Linked DNA regions of Homo sapiens: all the other regions are linked to region 2. The links are contacts of gene promoters, found by promoter capture Hi-C in human tissues and cell types (Jung and others, 2019). All regions are on one chromosome and are shown on one strand. The core of a region is centred on a gene start or on the middle of the fragment in contact, and the rest is flanking DNA. Distances in the headings are between cores, read along the strand shown.

Region 1 (2,973 bases), core at 84-2,583, 610 kb before region 2:
GAGGCTGAAGATGGGGCCCTAATCCCTTCTAGCTTGTAGGGTTTCTGTGGAGAAATCTGCTGTTAATCTGATGGGTTTTCCTTTTTAGGTTACCTGGTGCTTTTCCTCACAGCTTTTAAGATCCTTTCCTTCATCTTGGCTTTGGATAACCTGATGACTACGTGTCTAGGCAATGATCTTTTTGTGATAAATTTCCCAGGTGTTCTTTGAGCTGCTATGTATTTAGATCTCTAGCCACGCTGGGAAGTTTTCCTTGATTATTCCCTCAAATATGTTTTTCAAACTTTTAGATTTCTTTTCTTCCTCAGGAACACCAATTATTCTTAGTTTTGGTCATTTAACATAATCCCAACTTTTTGGAGGCTTTGTTTATTTATTTATTTTGATTCTCTTTTCTTTCTCTGTAGATTGAGTTAATTCAAAAATCTTGTCTTCAAGCTCTGAAATTCTTTATTCTGCTTGTTCGATTCTATTACTGAGACTTTACAGTGCATTTTGCATTTCTTTTAAGTGTGTCCTTCATTTCCGGAAGTTTTGATTATTTTTTATTTATGCTATCTGGTTCACTGAACATTTTTCCCTTCATATCTTGTATCACATTTTTTATTTCATTAAGTTGGACTTCACCTTTCTCTGGTGCCTCCTTGATTAGCTTAATAATCGACCTTCTGAATTCTTTTCCTGGCAATTCAGGGATTTCTTCTTGGTTTGGATCCATTGCGATCCATTGCTGATAAGCTAGTGTGATCTTTTAGGGGGATGTTTAAGAACTTTGGTTTTGTTATATTATCACAATTGTTTTTCTGATTTCTTATTTGGGCAGACTACATCAGAGGGAAGTTCTGAGGCTCAAGGGCTGCTGTTCAGATTCTTTTGTCCCACCAGGTGTTCCACTGATGTAGTGCTCCCCTCCTTCCCCTAGGGATGGGGATTCCTGAGAGCCAAACTGTAGTGATTGTTATTTCTCTTCTGGATCTGGCCACCCAGCAGTTACCAGGCTCCAGGCTGGTACTGGGGCATGTCTGCACAGAGTACTATGATGTGAACTGTCTTCAGGTCTCACAGCCATAGATAGCAGCACAGTTTTTCAGCTGTCTCTGGGGCCTGTCGCAGCAATCCACTTCCTTCAAAGGGTCTGTGGGCTCTCCTGATCCACCTTTGTCTCACATTACCTTATGCTGGTCCCTCTGCCTAGAAGATCCTCTTTGTCCTTCAAAATTCTCCATCCTTTAAGACTCAGCTTAGATACTACCTTTTTTCGTGATGAGTAAAGCCTTCCGTGTCAATTACTTCTTCCTCTGTGCCCTTGTAGCACTTCGTTCATATAAAGTGGTATTTCTTATGTTGTGTTTTAGTGTCTAGATTGTAATCTCAAGGGCGAGGTTTGTATCTTATTCGTCTTCCTGTTCCTGGTTCCATGTGTTGCTTGACAGAGTGAGGGTTAAGTAAATGTTGCTAAGTTGTATGGTATTAACATCTAAAAATTAGGAAGGCACTAAAGGATTCATTAGGCAGAGAGAAAAATTCTTATTTTTCCATCTTAAATGTATATTCTTTTAGTGTTTCACTTAGTTTCCCTTTTTCTCCCCTTAGTATACAACACGCTCACTTGTGTTTCTCAGACAACTGATACTTCATTTTCCTTATATAAAGATCACGAACTTGTAATAGCTGTGTCCAGAGTCATAAGCTAGTAAGGTGGTGGAAGTGGGGTTTGTCTGCCTTAAGTGCTCAGACACGTAGCTACTTGGCCACTCCTTACCATGTGTGTGCTCATGAATAAGTTACAGAGTTTTCTGAGTCTCAGTTTATAAGTGTAAATAAAGGATAATAATAGCACCTACCTCATAAGGTTCTTGGGAGAAATGAATAAGAATATCTATGTGAACACTCAGAGTTTGGCCCAAAGTAAGTACCCAATAAACAGAGCTGCACCATCAATTATTATTATTATTATTATTATTATTATTATTATTATTATTACTACTACTACTACTTTATGTTATGTAGGAGACATACAGATAACCTTTCTTTTCTTGGTTTAGACTGTTAGGAGTCATGGAAATTAAGAGTTTTGGCTCATCTTCAAAAGCTGTCTGCCAGGCCACACTTTATATAGTCTTAGAATATTACATTTGGAAGAGATTTTGGAGGACAACTGGTCTAACAAGTGCTTATCCAAAGCAGCAGTCCTCTCTTCAGTTTTCAGTCAAAGGTGATTAGTCATCTAGAGACTATCAGAACAGTTATAGTTAATAGAAGCTGCCACTTTAGAAGGAACATGTGATTGTTTAAAAATCATGTATGTGTACTTTGCTTTTTTTTTTTAAGTTCTGTCTTCTGTAAGATTGTAAAAATCCTTTATTCACATTGTAATCCTTTATCGGGGGAACCTGCCCCCAATATTTCATCGTAAGTTCTTTCTATTTTCCATAAGTGTCGGCCGGCTGAGAAATAAAGAGTATAAAGAGAGGAATTTTACAGCTGGGTCTCTGGGGGTGATATCACATATCGCTAGGACCGTGATGCCCACCTGAGCCACAAAACCAGCAGGTTTTTATTGAGGACTTCAAAAGGGGAGGGGGTGTACGAACAGGGAGTAGGTCACAAAGATCACATGCTTCAAAGGGCAAAAAGGAGAACAAAGATCACATGCTTCTGAGGCCAATAAAGATCACAAGGCAAAGGGCAAAGCAAAGATCACAAGGCAAAGGGGAAAATCAAAAACTCCTGATAAGGGTCCATGTTCAGCTGTGCACGTATTGTCTTGATAAACATCTTAAACAACATAAAACAGGTTTCGAGAGCAGAGAACTAGTCTGACCTCAAATTCACCAGGGTGGGGTTTTTTCCCCCACCCTAATAAGACTGAGGGTGCTGCAGGAGACCAGGGCGTATTTCAGTCCTTATCTCAACCGCGTAAGACAGACACTCCCAGAGCGGCCGTTTATAGACCTCCCCCCAGGAATGCAA
Region 2 (2,889 bases), core at 390-2,889:
TTGCAGAAAGCCCATCACTTCGGATTTGTAGATCTGAGAGGGCTCCCAGGGCACTGGCCTTTTAAGCATGACCACTTCTGCCTTCTCCGTTGTAGCTCCTCTTAAACCAGTGGTTCTCAAACTTTAGGATGCATCAGAATCACTTGATGGCGCAGGGTTTCAGGGAATTTGCATTTCTAATGAGTTTCTAGGTCCCAGGACTCAGCCTTAAGGACCAAGACTGTAATCTCTTCAACTCACACTCAAGCAGCTCCAGCCATGCTTATCCTCTAAAAATCCTCTGTGCTCCACCTGTTCACCCTACCTCCTCTCAACTCCTAGAAACCAGTGATTTTTTTTACTGTCTCCGTAGTGTTGCCTTTTCTGGAATGTCATATAGTTGGAATCATAGTGTGTAGCATTTTCAAATGGGCTTCTTTCTCTTAATAATATGCATTTAAGTTTCTTCCATGTGTTTTTATAGCTTGATAGCTAATTTCTTTTCAGTGCTGAATAAAATTCTATTGTATAGATGTATCACAGTTTATTTATCCATTCACCTACGAATTACATCTTGGTTGCTTCCGACTTTTGATACTTAGGAGTAAAGCTACTATAAACATCCATGTGCAGGTGTTTGTGGAGGTAAGTTTTCAAATCCTTCGGGTGAATACATAAGGGGCCCAGTGATGACTGAGTGCAAGCAATACTTTTTACTTACGTGGTCTCGGATAAATCACTTCACTTTTCTAAGCCTCAGTTTTCTCTTCTGCAAATTGTGATAAAAATAGCACCTCCTAGAGTTCCCTTGAAGATAAAAGAGGTAAGGTATTCAAGCACTTCAATGCCTGATACTCAATACATGGTAACTTTTTCTACATCCTTCAGCACACAACTGCTCATAATTCCCTCATACGAGTAGGGCTTTAACCTTTTAGCCTCGATGATTTGTTTTGCTCTTCCAAATGCCTAGAATGCCCTTCCAGGTTACCGTCTCCCTGAGCCTTTGGTTGGAATCCTCATACCAGAGGGTCAACACGTTTAGTAGAGGAATTACTGAAATAGTTGGGTTCCAAACACTAGCTCTGGCATTTACCTTCTGTGTAAATTGGCTGAAGTTACCCAACGTCTCTGTATCTCAATTTCCTCATCTATAAAATGGGGATAATAGTATCTACCTCATAGAGTTGTTGTCGGAGCCATTTTAATGGCAAAAACCGCAATTACTTTTGCACCAACCTAATAAATCCGCGCATATTCTTAAAGAAGTTAGAACAGTGCCTGGTACAAAGTAAATGCCAGATCAATGTTATTAATGTTAGGTGTCCGCCACCTATGCCACGCAGTGAGTTCCTTAGGTATAGGGACAGTCTAATCTCCGAATCCACACTGCCTAGAACAAAATAAGCATTGCAGTACATTTGAGAAAGTAAAGGTGTAGTGGAAACCGAGAGCGAAATGAGGGCGTAGGGAGAAAAGGGTGGGGAAGCTTAGAGACCGGTGAGGGAGCAGAGCTGGGGCGCCTGTGTACAGGGATAGAGCCCGGCGGCAGCAGGGCGCGGCTTCCCTTTCCCGGGGCCTGGGGCCGCAATCAGGTGGAGTCGAGAGGCCGGAGGAGGGGCAGGAGGAAGGGGTGCGGTCGCGATCCGGACCCGGAGCCAGCGCGGAGCACCTGCGCCCGCGGCTGACACCTTCGCTCGCAGTTTGTTCGCAGTTTACTCGCACACCAGTTTCCCCCACCGCGCTTTGGGTAAGTTCAGCCTCCCGGCGCGTCCCCGCGAGCCTCGCCCACAGCCGCCTGCTGACGGGTGGCTTGGGGAGGTCGCGGCGCCTCGCCCAGTTCCCCCGCGAGTGCAGCTCGACCCTGGGCAGGGCTGGCGGCTGGCGCCCGCGCCCGGCCCCAACCCAGCTGCGTGGGTGGGGAGCTGGAGGGACCTCAGTCCTGCATTTCAGAGTCGAGGAGACTGGGCCCACGGGGGGGAAAGTGCCGTGCCATGGGTGGGTCACCCAGGTCTTGGTGGGGCCCAAGCTGATACTCAGCTGTCCTCGCTCCCTGAAAGCTTCGCTTATTACAGCTAGCAGCGTAAGGGATCCACTTAGCCATCTCGGCCTCCCCAGTCCTAAAGGTCTAGGGGACAGAAAAAAGCTGGGAGTCGGAAGGTTCCTCGGGTCCCCGGCATGGCAGACGGGGCTGGCTCAGAGGTCTGCTCTGTGGACTTGGAATCGCACCCATCCTGTGAGCATCTTCTCCCCCTCACATAGGCAATTTATTTTATTTTACTTATTTTTTTTAGAAGGTAGAAAACAGTGGATTTGCATATTGAGGGTTGGAAGTTCAAGAAGTTTGCTTTTTCCTGAAAAGACTAACCGTTTTCTTTGCAACAGAATCCTATTGACTAGATATGAATCATTCCCTTGGTATTTGAGTCACCAGGTGGAAGATTTGGATACTTGATTGCAGATGACCATATATAGGAAAGTATGCAGGTGCTGGGAGGTTCTGGGTCGCTGGAGGCCCCTCTGGCTACTGATACGAAATTGCATAGCCCAGGCCGAATTCTTTCCAAGGATTTGTGTTCAGCACTGACAGCAAGACCCTGCCCTCCGGGAAAGATACATTTACTATGTTCACCAACATCATTTTTTAAAATGTAACTAATTAAAACGTTACTCCATGAAGATACCACCTTTGGTTTTCACGAAGACGGAAAACTTCAGACTGACCAGAAAGGGAATTTTTAAATGTAAAGAAAACCAGAATCTTGTTCCCAGAACTCTGTGGTTGTGTAGAGAAACCTGTTTAGAAATAACCGTAGAGGAGGAAGTAAAAGGAAATGATGTAATCCCTTTCAGGAAAGGATATATTGAAATTCTGTTTAAGTCATTTGGCCTTCGCTGTGGAGTAATTCT
Region 3 (3,199 bases), core at 361-2,860, 590 kb before region 2:
GAAGAAATTCCCCAAAGAAATATTGAAGTGACTTTACCAAAAAAAGGGGCTACTGGGTGTTGGGCAGGCAAAACCAACAGATGCCACTATACTAGGTCACTACCTTTGATGACTATTTGGGAGGAATTAGTAGCAGTGATAGGAGGAGGCAACAAAACTTAGACCCATTAATTACTTGAATTTTTATTAAATGTCTTCTCCTACAGTTCTATGAAATCACTAACTACATTGTATTGAATTCATAATACTAACTTCATCACCCTCCAAGTGTTTTTACATACATAGCAAATATTCTTTGGATGCAAAAAAAATTACTAATTGGTTTTTTAGAGGGGAGAGATGCCAATTTCATTTTATTAAACATAAATACAAACATATGTAATTACACATGAACAGATTTCTATGGTAAAAATATTCAATTGATTGCAGTACACTGAGCTCCATAGAGAGAGTGCTGGGGCAAGTGAGAGCCAGATGGGCACTGGGCAACTCTGTGCCTTGTTGAAGAAAGATAACTAAACATGGGTAAAGTAGATCCTAAGAAACCAAGAGGCAAAATGTCATCATATGTGTTCTTTGTGCCATCTTGTCAGGAGGAGCACAAGAAGGAGCACCCAGATGCCTCAGTCAGCTCCTCAGAGTTTTCTGAGAAGTGCTGAGAGGTGAAAGACTACTTCTGCTAAAGCAAAAGGAAAATTGGAAGACATGACAAAGGTAGGTAAAGCCCATTATGAAAGAGAAATGAAAACTTATATCCCTCCTAAAGGGGAGACAAAAAAGAAGTTCAAGGATCCCAATACACTCAAGAGGCCTTCTTCAGCCTTTTTTCTTGTTCTGTTCTGAGTATCACCCAAAAATCAAAGAACATCCTGGCCTAAACATTGGTGATGTTGCAAAGATGCTGGGAGAGATGTGGAATGGCACTGCTGCAGATGACTAGCAGCCTTATACAAAGAACGCTGCGAAGCTCAAGGAAAAATGTGAAAAAGATACTGCTGCATACTGAGCTAAAGGAAAGCCAGATGCAGCAAAAAGGGAGTTGTCAAGGCTGAAAAAAGCAAGAAAGAGAAGAAAGAAGAGGACAAGAAGATGATGAAGAAGATGTTGATGAATAAGTTAATGTTAGCACATTTTTTTCTTGTCTATAAAGAATTTAACCTCCCTGTACACAATTCACTCCTTTCAAACAAAAAAATTGAAATGTAAGTTTGTGTAAGATTTGTTTTTAAACTGTACAGTGTCTTTTTTTATATAGTTAACACACTACCAAATGTGTCTTTAGATAGCCCTGTCCTGGTGGTAATTTCAGTAGGCACTAACCTTGCTTGGTACAGTATGGTGGTATAGCTTGATGAATTTTCCCAAAATAAACATGTACCTAGCACACAGATCAAGAAACAGGATAATTTCAGCACCCTAGAAACCCCTTAGAAACCACTCTCATTCAAGGTAATCACTATTACCACTTCCAAGGCTATATATTTGTTTTGCCTGATTTTGAAAATTACCTTAAATTGAATAATTATCATATGTGATTTGGGGGAGGTCTGGGTTCAGTCATTCAACATTATATTTATGACATTCATCCAGTGTGTAGTTGTAGTTTGTTCGTTCTCATTGTTGTATAATATTCCATTGCTTAAATGTATCACAAATATCCATTCTACTGTTGGTGGACATGTGGATTTTTACAGTTTGGGGTATTACAAATAACGTTGATATGAACATTTTTGTATATTTCTTCTTGTGAAGTTTTAGGGCTATTACAATGATGCTACTTATTAACATTCTTGTCCACTTCTGGTGAAAAGAATATATATGTATTCATAGGTATATATACAACAGAAATGCTTATATATACACATTAGTGTGTGTACACAAATATATGTATTTGTATGTATGTATGAGGTTGGTACAAAAGTAATTGCTGTTTTTGCCATTAAAAACAGCAATTACTTTTGTACCAAGTTTATACGCACATATTTATATCTTGTCCACGTTTGGTGAACATATATATATATATATGAGGGCGATGAACATATGTATAGATAAGATGAACATATATACATGAGGAAAATGAGTATATATATAGTTTGGTGAACATATATATATATTCACCAACAGAAGTGCACAAGATATATACATAAACATTCCTGTTGTATATATACCTAAGCGTGAACTTGCTGGATAGTAACATGCTCCATTACAATGCTCAACACTTTTCCTAAGTAGTTGTACCAATATACATTCCCAAAAGTGTGGAAGATTTCCAACTTCTCCATATTCTTGCCAATACTTGGTTCATTATTTTTTCACTTTAATCATTTTGCTAAATGTGACATTGTCCAGTAATTTTTGAGGGATTTAAAAATCCTGTGAGTGGAGGAGACAGAAGTTAGAATATCACTCTACATTGATTAAAGTTGTAGTATGGTGATCTAGAGTTTTATGGGATTCATAAAATAACTTCTTAAAAATAAAAAGACTTAGAGATGGAAGAAATCTGTTATTTTCTGACTCCCAACAAGTTACTGCCTTCCTGGGAGAGGGGTTAATTCTGTTTGTATTATGCAGTGTAATGAAGAATCCTGTCAGGTTGGTTAGGATACCCAGCTGATTTGAACCCTACCTCCTCTTTATATTTAAATCCCAGTATTTGGTAAAGTCAAGTCTATAAGGTTTTAAGATGTTATTTCTGATACATTATGCAATTTAAATATTACTGCTCTTACCTAGAATAGAGTCTGCAAATTTATGGCACAGATTCTTACCATTCCCCATCCCCATCAGGCACATGACAGATGATGTGAATCACAGAAGACTTTCCCACTGATTTCTATGAGGTCTCAGGGTTGTTTTTTTCCTCACTATACTGCTCCACACAATCACACTGTTGGTTAGAAGTGTCATGGAAGATTCAAACACTTTTGCCTCCTGTACCTCAAGGTACAAGGTAATTTGCTGAATCTTACAATCTTCCCAAGTATTATTGTTGGTTGTCCCTGTAGGAGACTGATTGAAATTTAGGAGGCCGAGGTGGGTGGATCACCTGAGGTTGGAAGTTTAAGACCAGCCTGACCAACATGGAGAAACCCCATCTCTACTAAAAATACAAAATTAGCCAGGCATGGTGGCACATGCCTGTAATCCCAGCTACTTGGGAGGCTGAGGCAAGAGGCAAGAGAACTGCTTGAACCTG
Region 4 (3,230 bases), core at 109-2,608, 680 kb before region 2:
AATTAATTGGATAATTCTTTTCTTTTTCTTTTTCTTTTTCTTTTCTTTTCTTTCAAGAGACGGGGTCTCACTATGTTGCCCAAGCTGGTCTTGAACTCCTGGGCTCAAATTATCCTCCCACCTCAGTCTTCTGAAGTGCTGGCATTATAGGCATGAGCGATCAACCCGCCTTGGCTTCCCAGTGTTGGGATTACATGCGTGAACCACTACACCCAGCCTTGGATAGTTATTTCTTTTTTTTTTTTTTTTTTTTTTTTTTTTTAGACGGAGTCTTGCTCTGTCGACCAGGCTAGAGGGCAGTGGCACGATCTCGGCTCACTGCCAGCTCTGCCTTCCGGGTTCACGCCGTTCTCCTGCTTCAGCCTCCCGAGTAGCTGAGACTATAGGCGCCCGCCACCATGCCTGGCTAATTTTTTGTATTTTTAGTAGAGACGGGGTTTCACCGTGTTAGCCAGGATGGTCTTGATCTCCTGACCTCGTGATCCGCCCACCTCAGCCCCCCAAAGTGCTGGGATTACAGACATGAGCCACCGCGCCTGGCCAGTTATTTCTTTTTTTTTTCCTTTTGAGATGGAGTCTCACTCTGTTGCCTAGGCTGGAGTGCAGTGGCACGATCTTGGCCCACTGCAACCTCTGCTTCCCAGCTTCAAGTGATTTTCCTGCTTCAGCCTCCTGAGTAGCTGGGACTACAGGCACGTGTCACCATGCCCAGCTAACTTTTGTGTGTATATTTTGTTTTTTTTTCTGTGATGGACTCTTCCTCTGTTGCCTAGGCTGGAGTGCAGTGGCTCAATCTTGGCTCACTGCAACCTCTGACTCTGGGGTTCAAGCAGTTCCTGCCTCAGCCTCCCGAGTAGCTGGGATTACAGGAGCATGCCACCACACCCGGCTAATTTTTTTTGTATTTTTAGTAGAGACGGGGTTTTACCATGTTGGCCAGGCTGGTCTTGAACTCCTTATCTTGTGATCCACCCTCCTCAACCTCCCAAAGTGCTGGGATTACCGGCATGAGCCACCACGCCCGACCTGGATAATTATTTCTTTAGTTAAAATTGTCCTAAGTGCTGTGAAGGAAAAGTGTAAGATGTTATACAAATGTATATGAGAGACCTAATCTATTCAGGGGAGACTCTTCTGAAGAAATAATGTTAAGTAGAGTCCTTGAAAGATAACTGTATTACTATGAACTAGTGGAGTGGAAAGCAATAGGGGAAAATGTCATAGATGGAAGATTATGAAAATTCTTAGGTGGTAAAGAACAGAGTCAAGTAACTGAAAGAAGATGAGTGTATTTGTAGCATGGTGAACATGAGGGAGAGTGGGGCTAGAGGATGCTCACTGGATAGTTTAGTAGTAGCTCGTGGAGTACCTTGGTAAAAATTTCCTTTGTTCAAAGAGCCAAGTTTAGCCATCCAAGTATTTTAAGGACATGGTGAAATTTTCATTTTAAAATGATCCCTCTTACTAATATAGGTGGAAAAGAAATGGAGAGGGCCAAGTGTAGAAGACAGAACAGTTTAGAGGCTGTGGCAGTAATCCAGGTGGTAGGTGATGGTAGCCTGGACTGTGATGGTTGTAGCAGAAAGGCAAGAATAGATGGATACGATTCCCTAGGGAGAGTGAGGATTATAGAGTCAGGTGAGAAGGCAGTATAGGACTGACCTCAAGGGAACTCTAACCTTTCACTATCAATTAAAAGAGATAAGAAAGGAGAGGGAGTTGTTTCTATCTCATTGCCACGGGGTGGGAGAGATTTTGAGAATGAGTGCTGGATCAGGGAGACTCAGTAGTTCAGGAAGTTCTGAGGGCTATTTTCTCTGAAGTAGCAAGTGAGGTTATATGCTAAGAATAAGGGGAAGAGAAATGTATTAATAAAGGAGATAAAATAATACAGCTAGACAAATTGACTACAAAAGGATTGAAAACATAGATATCATGATCTAACAGTGCTACTTAAATAGTGGTATTTGGTTTCTTTTGGTCTGTAGTGTTTGATTTCTGTTGAAAATTGTAGTTTCTGGTTGTCATGACTGATAGTAGTGGTTTTGCTTGCTTGCTTGCTTTTTGTTGTTTGTTTGTTTGTTTGTTTGTTTGTTTTTGAGACAGAGTTTCGCTCTTGTTGCCCAGGCTGGAGTGCAGTGGCGCGGCTCACTGCAACCTCTGCCATCCAGGTTCAAGCGATTCTTGTGCCTCAGCCTCTCAGGTAGCTGGGATTACAGGCATGCACCAACACACTCAGCTAATTTTTTTTGCGTTTTTAGTAGAGACAGTTTCATCATCTTGGTCAGGCTGGTCTCAAACTCCTGACCTCAGGTGATCCACCCACCTCAGCTTCCCAAAGTGCTGGGATTACAGGTGTGAGCCACCGCACCCAGCCTGTTTTGTTTTTTTGAGACAGGGTTCCTGTCACCCAGTCTGGAGTGGAATAGTGAGATCAGAACTCACTGCAGCCTCAACTTTCCTGGCTCAAGTGATCCTGCCACCTCAAGCAATCCTCCCACCTCAGCTTCCTGAGTAGCTGGGACTACAGCTGTGCACCGTCGCTAATTTTTAAATTTTTTGTAGAGATGGGGTTCCACTCTATTGCCCAGGCTGGGCTCGAGCTCCTGGGCTCAAGGGTTCCTCCTGCCTTGGCCTCCCAAAGTGCTGGGATTACAGACATGAGCCACTGTGACTGGCCTTGATTTTTTAAAATAGCAGATTGCAATTGATATGTTCAAGAGATTTTTTTGTTTGTTTCCCCAAGAGAATTATTATTTTGGGATCTTCCAAGGTTGTTAGGTTCTTGTATAGTACAACTAGAATTGTTTGGAAGTGTTTGCCAAGCTTCGAATGGATAATTGCTTGTTCCTTCATTTATCATACGTGATTTTTCAAAGTGCTGGGATTCCATGCATGAGCCACCACACTCAGCAATAAAATCTTTATAAACTGATATGAAGTGATCTCTCAAATGTATGCATGTACACACACCTTTATGAAAGGCACACATAAAATCTCATCTGCATCTCATGTATATGTGTGTGTATGTTTGTGAAAATAGGCTCTAATACCTTTAGGTGAAAAAGCAAGATGGAGTAGTGATTAGAGTATGCTACCATTTTATAAAAGAGGAGGGAAATATATTGGTACCTATATGTTTATATATGTATATAGTGTTTCTAAAAAGATGCATAAGGTATTGCTAACATGGGAGAGAAGCTGGGGGCCAGGTGTAGGAGGAAGACTTT

The links. The method cuts DNA at HindIII sites, captures the fragments that hold promoters and counts their contacts. A contact is called where the count stands out against the background at its distance.
Region 1: a contact is called between a fragment that was not itself captured here and the fragment with the promoter of ANXA3 in region 2, in 1 of the 25 tissues and cell types used here (heart right ventricle).
Region 3: a contact is called between a fragment that was not itself captured here and the fragment with the promoter of ANXA3 in region 2, in 1 of the 25 tissues and cell types used here (H1 embryonic stem cells).
Region 4: a contact is called between a fragment that was not itself captured here and the fragment with the promoter of ANXA3 in region 2, in 1 of the 25 tissues and cell types used here (dorsolateral prefrontal cortex).

Annotation. Positions count from the first base shown.
Region 1 is chr4:77,943,189-77,946,161 of GRCh38, forward strand. The region is part of intron 7 of MRPL1 (mitochondrial ribosomal protein L1); the gene reads left to right. The region is part of intron 1 of LOC102724916 (a long non-coding RNA gene); the gene reads right to left. Among named protein-coding and RNA genes, the nearest start is that of MRPL1, 82 kb to the left of the region's middle. The HindIII fragment of the contact is 6,374 bases long and covers 1-2,973 here.
Region 2 is chr4:78,550,131-78,553,019 of GRCh38, forward strand. It overlaps ANXA3 (annexin A3), which reads left to right and starts at 1,640. Exons shown (of 13, transcript NM_005139.3): 1 at 1,640-1,729. RefSeq lists enhancers at 2,005-2,756, 2,060-2,889. The HindIII fragment of the contact is 13,286 bases long and covers 1-1,753 here.
Region 3 is chr4:77,963,419-77,966,617 of GRCh38, forward strand. It overlaps the pseudogene HMGB1P44. Among named protein-coding and RNA genes, the nearest start is that of FRAS1, 92 kb to the right of the region's middle. The HindIII fragment of the contact is 6,061 bases long and covers 1-3,199 here.
Region 4 is chr4:77,867,514-77,870,743 of GRCh38, forward strand. All of the region lies in intron 1 of MRPL1 (mitochondrial ribosomal protein L1), which reads left to right. Among named protein-coding and RNA genes, the nearest start is that of MRPL1, 6.3 kb to the left of the region's middle. The HindIII fragment of the contact is 3,452 bases long and covers 1-3,084 here.